2 separate regions of the Homo sapiens genome follow, and region 2 is linked to region 1. Evidence: promoter capture Hi-C in human tissues and cell types (Jung and others, 2019). All regions are on one chromosome and are shown on one strand. The core of a region is centred on a gene start or on the middle of the fragment in contact, and the rest is flanking DNA. Distances in the headings are between cores, read along the strand shown.

Region 1 (5,008 bases), core at 881-3,380:
ACCCCTCAGCTGGGTGTCCTCCTCTGACACGACGCCTTTTCCAGGGCCTGGAGCTGCAGTGGTTGCTGGAGCTGTTGTGGGTACCCTGGTTGGACTGGGGTTGCTGGCTGGGCTGGTCCTCTTGTACCACCGCCGGGGCAAGGCCCTGGAGGAGCCAGCCAATGATATCAAGTAAGTGTCCCTGGTGTCTGCTGCAGCGGGGGCTCTCCCAGCTCTCCTCACAGAGGCTGGGAATTCAGGCAGCTCTCATCTATTGGGATGGGGTCAGTGGCTGAAACATCATTCCTATGGGCAGGTTTTAAGGGAGAGGGAAAGGAGTACTGAAGTGTGCAGGCAGAGGTGGTATATAAGACCAAGCAGGTAGAAACTCTCTCCTCCTTCCCCCACCCACTTCTGACCTCTTGTTATTTCTTTGATGACTAGGGAGGATGCCATTGCTCCCCGGACCCTGCCCTGGCCCAAGAGCTCAGACACAATCTCCAAGAATGGGACCCTTTCCTCTGTCACCTCCGCACGAGCCCTCCGGCCACCCCATGGCCCTCCCAGGCCTGGTGCATTGACCCCCACGCCCAGTCTCTCCAGCCAGGCCCTGCCCTCACCAAGACTGCCCACGACAGATGGGGCCCACCCTCAACCAATATCCCCCATCCCTGGTGGGGTTTCTTCCTCTGGCTTGAGCCGCATGGGTGCTGTGCCTGTGATGGTGCCTGCCCAGAGTCAAGCTGGCTCTCTGGTATGATGACCCCACCACTCATTGGCTAAAGGATTTGGGGTCTCTCCTTCCTATAAGGGTCACCTCTAGCACAGAGGCCTGAGTCATGGGAAAGAGTCACACTCCTGACCCTTAGTACTCTGCCCCCACCTCTCTTTACTGTGGGAAAACCATCTCAGTAAGACCTAAGTGTCCAGGAGACAGAAGGAGAAGAGGAAGTGGATCTGGAATTGGGAGGAGCCTCCACCCACCCCTGACTCCTCCTTATGAAGCCAGCTGCTGAAATTAGCTACTCACCAAGAGTGAGGGGCAGAGACTTCCAGTCACTGAGTCTCCCAGGCCCCCTTGATCTGTACCCCACCCCTATCTAACACCACCCTTGGCTCCCACTCCAGCTCCCTGTATTGATATAACCTGTCAGGCTGGCTTGGTTAGGTTTTACTGGGGCAGAGGATAGGGAATCTCTTATTAAAACTAACATGAAATATGTGTTGTTTTCATTTGCAAATTTAAATAAAGATACATAATGTTTGTATGAGATAAGAAACAAGTTGCCTTTTCAAACTAAGAATTCTTGAAATTGAGCTTCAGGAGGATGCAAAGTGGACCCCTTCCCAAGCTGTGTACCCAGGAGGGCTTCCCCCCACAGGCTTAGAGCAGCTCTTCTAGTGTTTAGAAGGGTCCTTGTTTGTCACGTGGAGAAGGGGAGGAGACTCTAAGCTACTCTGAACAGCAGAGGGATGGAGTTGATACGCTTTCTGCTGGAGCTTGAGTGCTCCCGGCTAGGGGGTACGTGTACCTCATCTGCTTCCTCTTCAGGGACAGGGGAGAGGAAGCTCACGTGGGCTCCTCTCCCACACCACGGAATCCTTAACAAAACACTCCTTGCCCATCTGGAAGAGATCTCTGTTGTTACTGAGGGAGAGCTGGGCATAGTATGAGGTGCAGGTCTGTGTCCAAGTTCTGCCATGTTCTTTCCTACCAAGGGTGAGGTCTCCTTTAGGTCTCAGTTTCTCTGCCCCTAAAATGGAGTGGCTCTGGAAATGGAGAGATGCTCATTTCTACAGAGACTCCTACCTCAGTAAGTGGTGAAATGAAAAGCGCTGTGGACAGGAAGGGTCTGCGGCCTGGGGCTCACACTCACAGTGAGGCTCCGAGGTGGGGACTCCCCTTGCCAGCTCTGGGGTATCAGGACGCCTTCCAAAGTCAGCTTTCCTTCCGTCTCTGCAGAAGGCCCACCCCAAGCCCAGCGCTTTTCCCAAGGCCGGACAGCTTCAGACCTTGGGGAGAAGAGGAAGGAAGGAGGAAGAAGGGACAGAGGGATTGCAGAATCGGGGCTGGAGGAGAGGAGGGAGGAGCACTTTTTTTTTTTTTTAACCTGCGGCGCCGGCCTCTCCCCTGTTTGCTCTGAGATACCAGTCTCGCTCCTGCCCAGCCCGGGCGGCTGCCCTTGGGTGCTCCCTTCCCTGCCCGACACCCAGACCGACCTTGACCGCCCACCTGGCAGGAGCAGGACAGGACGGCCGGACGCGGCCATGGCCGAGCTCCCGGGGCCCTTTCTCTGCGGGGCCCTGCTAGGCTTCCTGTGCCTGAGTGGTGAGGAGGGGCCGGGCGGGACCACGGCGAGGGCTGGGGGGCATAGGCCTGGCTTCCCCGGCTCCTCGGACCCACTCTGTCCCCGCCAGGCCAGATGAGGCTGCCGTGGGCGCCAGGGGCCCTAAGGCGCCTGAGGTGAGGCCGGAGAGGGGGTGTCCAAGGCCCGGAGGGCGTAGGAGAGAGACCCCCAAGCCGGCGAGCGAGTTGGGCCTCTCCGCGGCACAGGCCTGAACCACCCCACCGCAGGGCTAGTGTTTTCCTTTCTCTGCTAAACACACACACCCTCTTACCTGGCCCGGTTCCGGCTCTTTTACCCACAAAGACCCGGCCCCTCCCGGAAACCTCAGGTTTTGGGAAGGGAGGGGTTGGATTGAGGGGAGAGGGTTGTGCTCTGGGGAGGGAGCCCCCAGCTTCCAATATAGATGCCCGGGGGTGGGCCCGACCCTCCAGATCACTGGAATTTGGGTTCCCACCTCCCTCTGGTCCCCGGCCCCAGGGCTGGCCGTGGAGGTGAAGGTACCCACAGAGCCGCTGAGCACGCCCCTGGGGAAGACAGCCGAGCTGACCTGCACCTACAGCACGTCGGTGGGAGACAGCTTCGCCCTGGAGTGGAGCTTTGTGCAGCCTGGGAAACCCATCTCTGAGTCCCATCCAGTGAGCTGAGAGCGACTGCATGAAGCTGGGTTGGCCTGGAGGGACAGGAGCCCAGGATGAGGGCATGGGGTCGGGAGGGGGAGTTTGGGGATCAGTATGCTTGGATGAAAAGGTAAGTGGGCTCTCCCTAGATCTTTTCAGAGCTGCAGTCTGCCTGACCGTGTATCTTCCTTTCCTCTTCCATAGCTCCTATTTCCAACTCCCCTGCCTTAGTGTATCCATTGACACTAAGGTGTTGTGACTGATACCAAGATAATATGCTGCCTCTTCTGCCTCTCTCTTTGAGAGAGAGAGAGAGAGACCAATGGATCAGGTTCATTTAGCACCTGAAAGGGGGTGGTGTTTGGGGACAGAGAGACCTTTGGAGTTCCAGCTTAAGGGTATCAGCCTCCCTGGCTGATGTAAGTCAGAGGCCTCTTATACCCACTTTGATGAGGAAGGACTGTAGAGTTGATGCCAGGCAGAAACAGGCACATATGTGTGTCTTCTGCCTCTCCCCAGATCCTGTACTTCACCAATGGCCATCTGTATCCAACTGGTTCTAAGTCAAAGCGGGTCAGCCTGCTTCAGAACCCCCCCACAGTGGGGGTGGCCACACTGAAACTGACTGACGTCCACCCCTCAGATACTGGAACCTACCTCTGCCAAGTCAACAACCCACCAGATTTCTACACCAATGGGTTGGGGCTAATCAACCTTACTGTGCTGGGTAAGGCAGACTGGGGATCCACGAGCCACATACTCTTTCACATACTTGGGGCGTTTGCACTGGTCTTGCTAAATCTCTGGTTTCTGACTTTTAGCCCAAGCACACAACTGCACTGGGGGCCCCAAGTGAAAATACTCCCTTTCCAAGTCTTCTAATTCAGATGGTCATACTCCAACTCCACCCTCCACCGAGAGCATCTCCTCCATCAGAGCCTAATAACAGAGTGTGTGAGAGAAAGTCCTTCCCATACATGGGGATCTGAGCCTGCTCCCAGCAGCTCCATCATGGGGGAGGCTCTCATCGGTAGTTGGATTCTGTCCCTCCCAAGGTCAATGGCAGAGAAGGGGAGTGGCCACCAAAGGAACAAGGGCCCCTATTACTGAGCACCAACTTCGTGCTCAGAGCTTCTGTCTCACCCCAAACTAGAGCCTTTTCAGAGATGAGCAACCAGAAAAACTATCACAGAGACTGGCAGTGTTTAGATGGAAAAGAGAAGGCCTCGGATGGGTGTATTACTGCTGGATTCAACTATCCAAAGGGCTGTCATGTGGAGGAGAGATTTTAATTTCTCTTTGTGGGCCCAAAGGGCAGGAACTGAAACCAATGGGTGGAGGTTATGTTAACACACATTTTGGCTCAACATGAAGAAGAATTTTCTCTAACAATCAGAATTTCCAATAGTGGAAATCCCTCAGTTCCTGGGGATGCAGTGGTGTGTGGACCCAAGAGGACCACTGTTTGATAGGGGTATTGAAGTAGAGAATGTAGCACCTAATGGAGTTGGGAGTGGGGCTGGAAGATTGCTGAGGAACTTTCTGTTTTTTTTTTTTTTTTTTTTTTTTTGCAGTTCCCCCCAGTAATCCCTTATGCAGTCAGAGTGGACAAACCTCTGTGGGAGGCTCTACTGCACTGAGATGCAGCTCTTCCGAGGGGGCTCCTAAGCCAGTGTACAACTGGGTGCGTCTTGGAACTTTTCCTACACCTTCTCCTGGCAGCATGGTTCAAGGTAAGGGCCCAGGGCATCAGGAAGAGGGTACTGGAGACCTGGGCAAATCTGGTCTCTAAATCCCACACACCCGTATTATCCGTTCCATGACTAGGGGTATGACACAAACCACTATACCTTTCCCTGTCTCTTCCTTGGCTTCCTGTATTGTTCCCTCCTGCCTGTCTTTCTGCAGTCTGTGGCTGCATGATCCTGGGGGTATTTCTCAAGCTGAATATACTGCTGATATCCTGGAAGAGAGTAGAGGGCAGGGAGCAATCTGATGATGACCACCCATCTGCCTTGGGGAGATTTCTTTTAGGTTTCCTAAGGGTCGTGGACCACTTCCAAA
Region 2 (5,008 bases), core at 1,543-4,042, 370 kb before region 1:
GAGCAGGGAGGTGATCAAACTTGCCTTAAAGAAAAACTACAGTACTTGATCTATGACCTCTGAGACAACTAGTTTTAATGAAGATCATCAATCTAACCACTTAGAAATTCTGCAAATGCCCAGCCTGTTTTATGAACCAACGCATTACCCGTGTCCCTTTCTGAGATGGCAGAATAAGTGAATGCCCCTGAGCACTATTCATTCTATCCATAAAGGCCTTTTTGACTACTGATCCCTGATCATGTGCTCTGCTCAGCCTAGGTTTGGAATTACCAACCTCCTAGGATTGAGTTTATCAGGACTTTGCGGAGGTGCTGCTAAGGCACTACCTTTCATGTGCATCCGTCAAGGAGAACTCTGGGAATCCTGATGACTGGCCCATGATTCATGCTGTCAAGAGAAATGACTGAGAAACATACATGAATTAGACACCTTAATTCATCCACAGAATCTGCATGACTTTTGACCCAACTCTGGCACCCGACAGCAAGAGGGCTGTAGGCTTGTGATCTCTTGCCTGTGTGGTAGCTGGCTAAGGTAAAGCTGCTGGAATGGGAAATGGAGAAGCAAACCACTGACCTAAAGGACGTTAAGATGAGAAGCAACTGGGAGACTGCCAACGGACCAGGCTGCCCTGCAGAAAGAGCTTGCACCCTTGCTCTGGTCTCCTCGTTCCTCTCTTCAGCCTCTGGCAGCTCTGCCTCTAGGGTCAAGGGACTCACAGAAGTCCCCAGGGCTTTCATCTGCCAGCTCCCTCCTTTCTCTCCAATTCTTCTCATAGCTCCTTTATCTGCTGCTTATGTTCCCTGCTCCCCAGTGGACTTCTGCTCTGCTCCATCCTAGATGCCTTAGGTTCAATCTGCATCCACCAAGTTACCTGTTTCCTTGGATATTCACTCTTGGAAAGCCTTTCTTGATTACATATGGACATGTGAGAAAGACAGGACCAGGACTGGAGAACATTTTTATTCTAATTATGAACGTATTTGGTTTTATTTATTTTTTTTTTCCTGATCTTGAGTCTGGTTCTTGCTTAAGTACATAATTGATAGAGCTTACCCCTCAAATCATCTTTTATATTTCCCCAGTAATTTAAAGCTAATGATTTCCATCACTTTAACTACAGTAAAATCAAAGTTTTTGACATTAGCAGCTTTGGGAGATCCTCACCAATATTTGGGATTTTGAGGCTAGAGCACTATGAGGGAATTACATATCATCCAGGGCACGTGATCCAATTTACTGGTCTTACATCTCTTACCATTAGAAGAGTCTTGCTTTGTCTTACTTAAATGTACCATCCTCCTGGGCTGTCCATTCCATGAGGAATACAGATGTTCATCACAGCCCTCTCTGGAGACTCTCTCACAGCCCTTTAAAATAGTCCCTATCTCACCCTTCTCATACTGCAGTAAGGGGACCTGGGATGGGGAGTAAAATTCATTACCCCTTCTTATAGATGAGAAAACTAATGCCAAAGGGGAGAAGGGGCTGTATTAGAGTCATGAACTTGAGAGAAAAGGCCAAGAATAGAGCCCAGATGCTCTGATCCCCAAACCATTGTAGCTCCAACAAGAGAGCCTCCATTTTGGAGGCTCCAATGAGAACCTCCATGTTGGTCTCTTGACCATTGTCAAATGTCATTACCTCTCTGCAACCTACCTGCTCTGGTATCTCCATCAGTGAAGCTGGTGTTAGCTAGCAGGTTTAGTTTGAGTCTTTGATTCTAACTACTTGTTACCAGCCCTGCCTACATCCGTCTCTTAACCAAGAGACCAGCTTTCACTCAGCATCTCATGTTGGTTGATTTCTGAGAAGGATGTGGTACTCCTGTCTGAAGCTGCCCTGTATCCTGATTTCCTGCCAGGATGATCAAAATTGATTTCTACCAGGAGGATAATCCAGCCAGGGCTGTTCTGGGGCAGAAGACAGAGTTACCATGGGGCCACTATACTCTTTTTTAAGATTATTGGGGGCCAGGCATGGTGGCTCATGCCTGTAATCCCAGCACTTTGGGAGACAGAGGCAAGTGGATTGCTTGAGGCCAGGAGTTCAATAACAGCCTGGCCAACATGGCAAAATCCCCTCGCTACTAAAAATAGAAAAATTAGCTGGGTGTGGTGGTGCACATCTGTCATCCCAGCTACTCCAGAGGCTGAGGCATGAGAAACACCTGAATCTGGGAGGGGAATGTTGCAGTGAGCCAAGATTGTGCCATTGCACTCCAGCCTGGGCGACAGAGGGAGAATCAATCTCAAAAAAAAAAAAAGAAAGAAAGATTATTTGGTCTTTGGAACTAGTGATCTGCTCAAACAGAGACCCTTAGACTAATAAACTGATGAAGGGTAGAATGTCCGATGCACTTTGTTCCTTCTATGAGCTCCTTAAGGAGAAGAAAAATACATAGAAGTCTATCTGACCCACTGTTCCAGCAACCTGGAGAAGAGGTGTCATCTGCCATGTCAGTTTCTCATCTGGCTGTCATGCTGGGCTTCTTGGAACACTTCTGACCCCAAACAGGACCTAGAACAATGGATGCACATGGAAAGTGCCCAATAAATACTCGTCGACTTTAATGAAAAAGTAGTTTTAGCATTCTACAATATCTCTGTGGGATTCAGAGAACTCTTGCTCTGGTGTAGAGGCTAAAAGACACAGAAAAGGAACTAAAATGAGTTTGGCACTGAGACAGAGTAAAGAAGTGTCTATAGCCTGGCGTGGTGGCACATGCCTGTAGTCCCAGCTACCTGGGAGGCTGAGGCAGGAGAATCGCTTGAACCTGGGAGGCGGAGGTTGCAGTGAGCCGAGATCACGCCACTGCACTCTAGCCTGGGTGACAGTGCAAGACCCTGTCTCAAAAAAAAAAAAAAAAAAAAAGGAAGTGTCTAAACATGAGCTAGAGATCATGTCTTCCTGTAACATCCCAGATTATCCACATGCAGTGACTCAGGAGCTAATGTTGGCAGACAGAAGAGAATGAAAGCTTATTTCTAAGACTCTGAAATCAGTGGAAGTGCTCCATCTCTATGATCCAAGGAACACCCAGGCCTATTTCTGACAAAGAGAAAAAAGGAAATAAAAATTCTTGCTCAGGAAACTAAAAAATTTTTGCAGAACTGAAGAACTTGCTGTTTCATAGCTTTAGCTAAACACGTCTAGCTTGATTATCAAATATTAGAATTGGGAGAAACAAGCACTGATGCAAGTAAAAGAATATTCTGCTGCTGATTTAAAGACAAGTGAATCGCTAAATATTTTTATTAGCAGCAAATTTGCTGCTTGCTGGAACTAATTTCACGCCCTGTAGATATGGTGCTTAAGTTGGAAATGGCGTTAAATTGCTCTCTCCTTGAGGCGGGTAGGATTTCTGGTGGCAGCAGCCACTAGGTGGCACCGACAAGGTAGCTCCTCAAAGATAGGCAGCTTTGGAACCAATGATAGGAAAGTCCAGAGGAAGTCCTGCCTTACATTTCCCTTTCTCCTTCCAAAGAAAAGCCCGTGCTCCAGATAGCAAAATCTTTCAGAAAGGAAGTTGCCTAGAAAGGAACATTACTCCTAAGGGTCTTGAATTTCCCAGTTCAGTCTTTTCTCTAAGTTCGTATAACACTTTCAGTTAGCACGTCCAATTTGGCAATCAGTTAGAATTTATAATTTCTTGCATGTTAGCACTATCTCTTCAACCACACCACAGCTTCTAGAAAGGACAGGTTACATTTTATTGCCAGTACTGGAGCCCAGGTGAGCAAACAGTGTGTATAACTTGCGGGCTGGGGAGCTAGACTAGAAGAACTGAGGCAGAGACAGCAACACAAAGGATGAGACCAGGTTAGATCCAAGGCAGGACAGAATGCAGAGGTCACAGCACAATTGGGCAACTGAAATCAGGTGGGAATTCCAAAGCAGAAGCAAATCCAGGACTGAGGTCAAGGAATTGCCGTGGCTCAGAATCCAGTAAGTGAGCCAAAGTCAGAGGACACGTTAAATAATAAAGGTCAGAGCAAGCTGTGGGTGGACAAATAAATCAAGGGAATGCAGAACCCAGATGCCTAAGGGAAAAATAAAGCCAAGAGGCCAACAGGTCAAAGTGAAAGTCAGGAAAAACATAATAGCAGGGCAAAACACACACAAAAAGTTTGACGTACTCGTTAATCAGATGTTTAGTGGTCAATTCATGCTAGAACCAAAGTGGATTCATTAAGAATAAGTTTTGCTAAATTGAACTTATTTCCTTGTGCAATAGAGTTATGAAGTTGATCAATCTGATTGTGTTATTTACTCTCCTGCTTAAATACTTCTGACTTAGCTAAACCCTTCACCTACAGAATAAAGCCAAAATTCCTTATCATAGCATTCAAGACCCTTCACACACTTTTCAGCTCTTGACACTCATTTCCCTGAACCTGGTCCTTAACTCACACTAGAATATTTGCTATTTCTGAATCATGCCAAAGACATTCACTTTTCTATGCTTTGCTTCTCCTATTTCTCCACTCTGGAATTTCTTCCTATCTCCATTCTCTACTTATCTCACAAAAACCCTATGTATTTTCTTTTCTTTCCCTTTCTTTTTTTTTTTTTTTTTGAGACAGGGTCTCATCCTGTCACCCAGGCTGGAGTGCAGTGGTGTGATCTCAGCTCACTGCAACCTCTGCCTCCTGGGTTCAAGCGATTATCATACTTCAGCCTCTGAGTAGCTGGGATTATAGGCACATGCCACCATACCTGGCTCATTGTTTTGTGTTTTTAGTAGAGACAGGGTTTCACTATGTTTGCCAGGCTGGTCTTGAACTCTTGACCTCAAATGATCCACCTGCCTCCCAAAGTGCTGGGATTACAGTCATGAGCCACCATGCCCGGCCTAAAAAAAACTCTGTATTTTCAAGGCTCAGTCAAATGTCACTTTTTTGTGTGAAGCCCTCCTTTCTCTTTCTGCACAATGAAGAATTAATCTCCTTTTTCTCTAGGTTTTCAATATACTTTGTTTATACTGCTACTGTATAATATAATA

Evidence for each region. The method cuts DNA at HindIII sites, captures the fragments that hold promoters and counts their contacts. A contact is called where the count stands out against the background at its distance.
Region 2: a contact is called between a fragment that was not itself captured here and the fragment with the promoter of VSIG2 in region 1, in 1 of the 25 tissues and cell types used here (aorta).

Annotation. Positions count from the first base shown.
Region 1 is chr11:124,749,377-124,754,384 of GRCh38, reverse strand. It overlaps VSIG2 (V-set and immunoglobulin domain containing 2), which reads left to right and starts at 2,130. Exons shown (of 7, transcript NM_014312.5): 1 at 2,130-2,308; 2 at 2,805-2,962; 3 at 3,464-3,671; 4 at 4,519-4,677. The coding sequence starts at 2,248. It overlaps ESAM (endothelial cell adhesion molecule), which reads left to right. Exons shown (of 7, transcript NM_138961.3): 6 at 45-171; 7 at 424-1,259. The coding sequence ends at 739. RefSeq lists enhancers at 1-12, 2,371-2,932. The HindIII fragment of the contact is 14,367 bases long and covers 1-5,008 here.
Region 2 is chr11:125,122,744-125,127,751 of GRCh38, reverse strand. No RefSeq gene overlaps it. Among named protein-coding and RNA genes, the nearest start is that of TMEM218, 14 kb to the right of the region's middle. The HindIII fragment of the contact is 3,133 bases long and covers 1,226-4,358 here.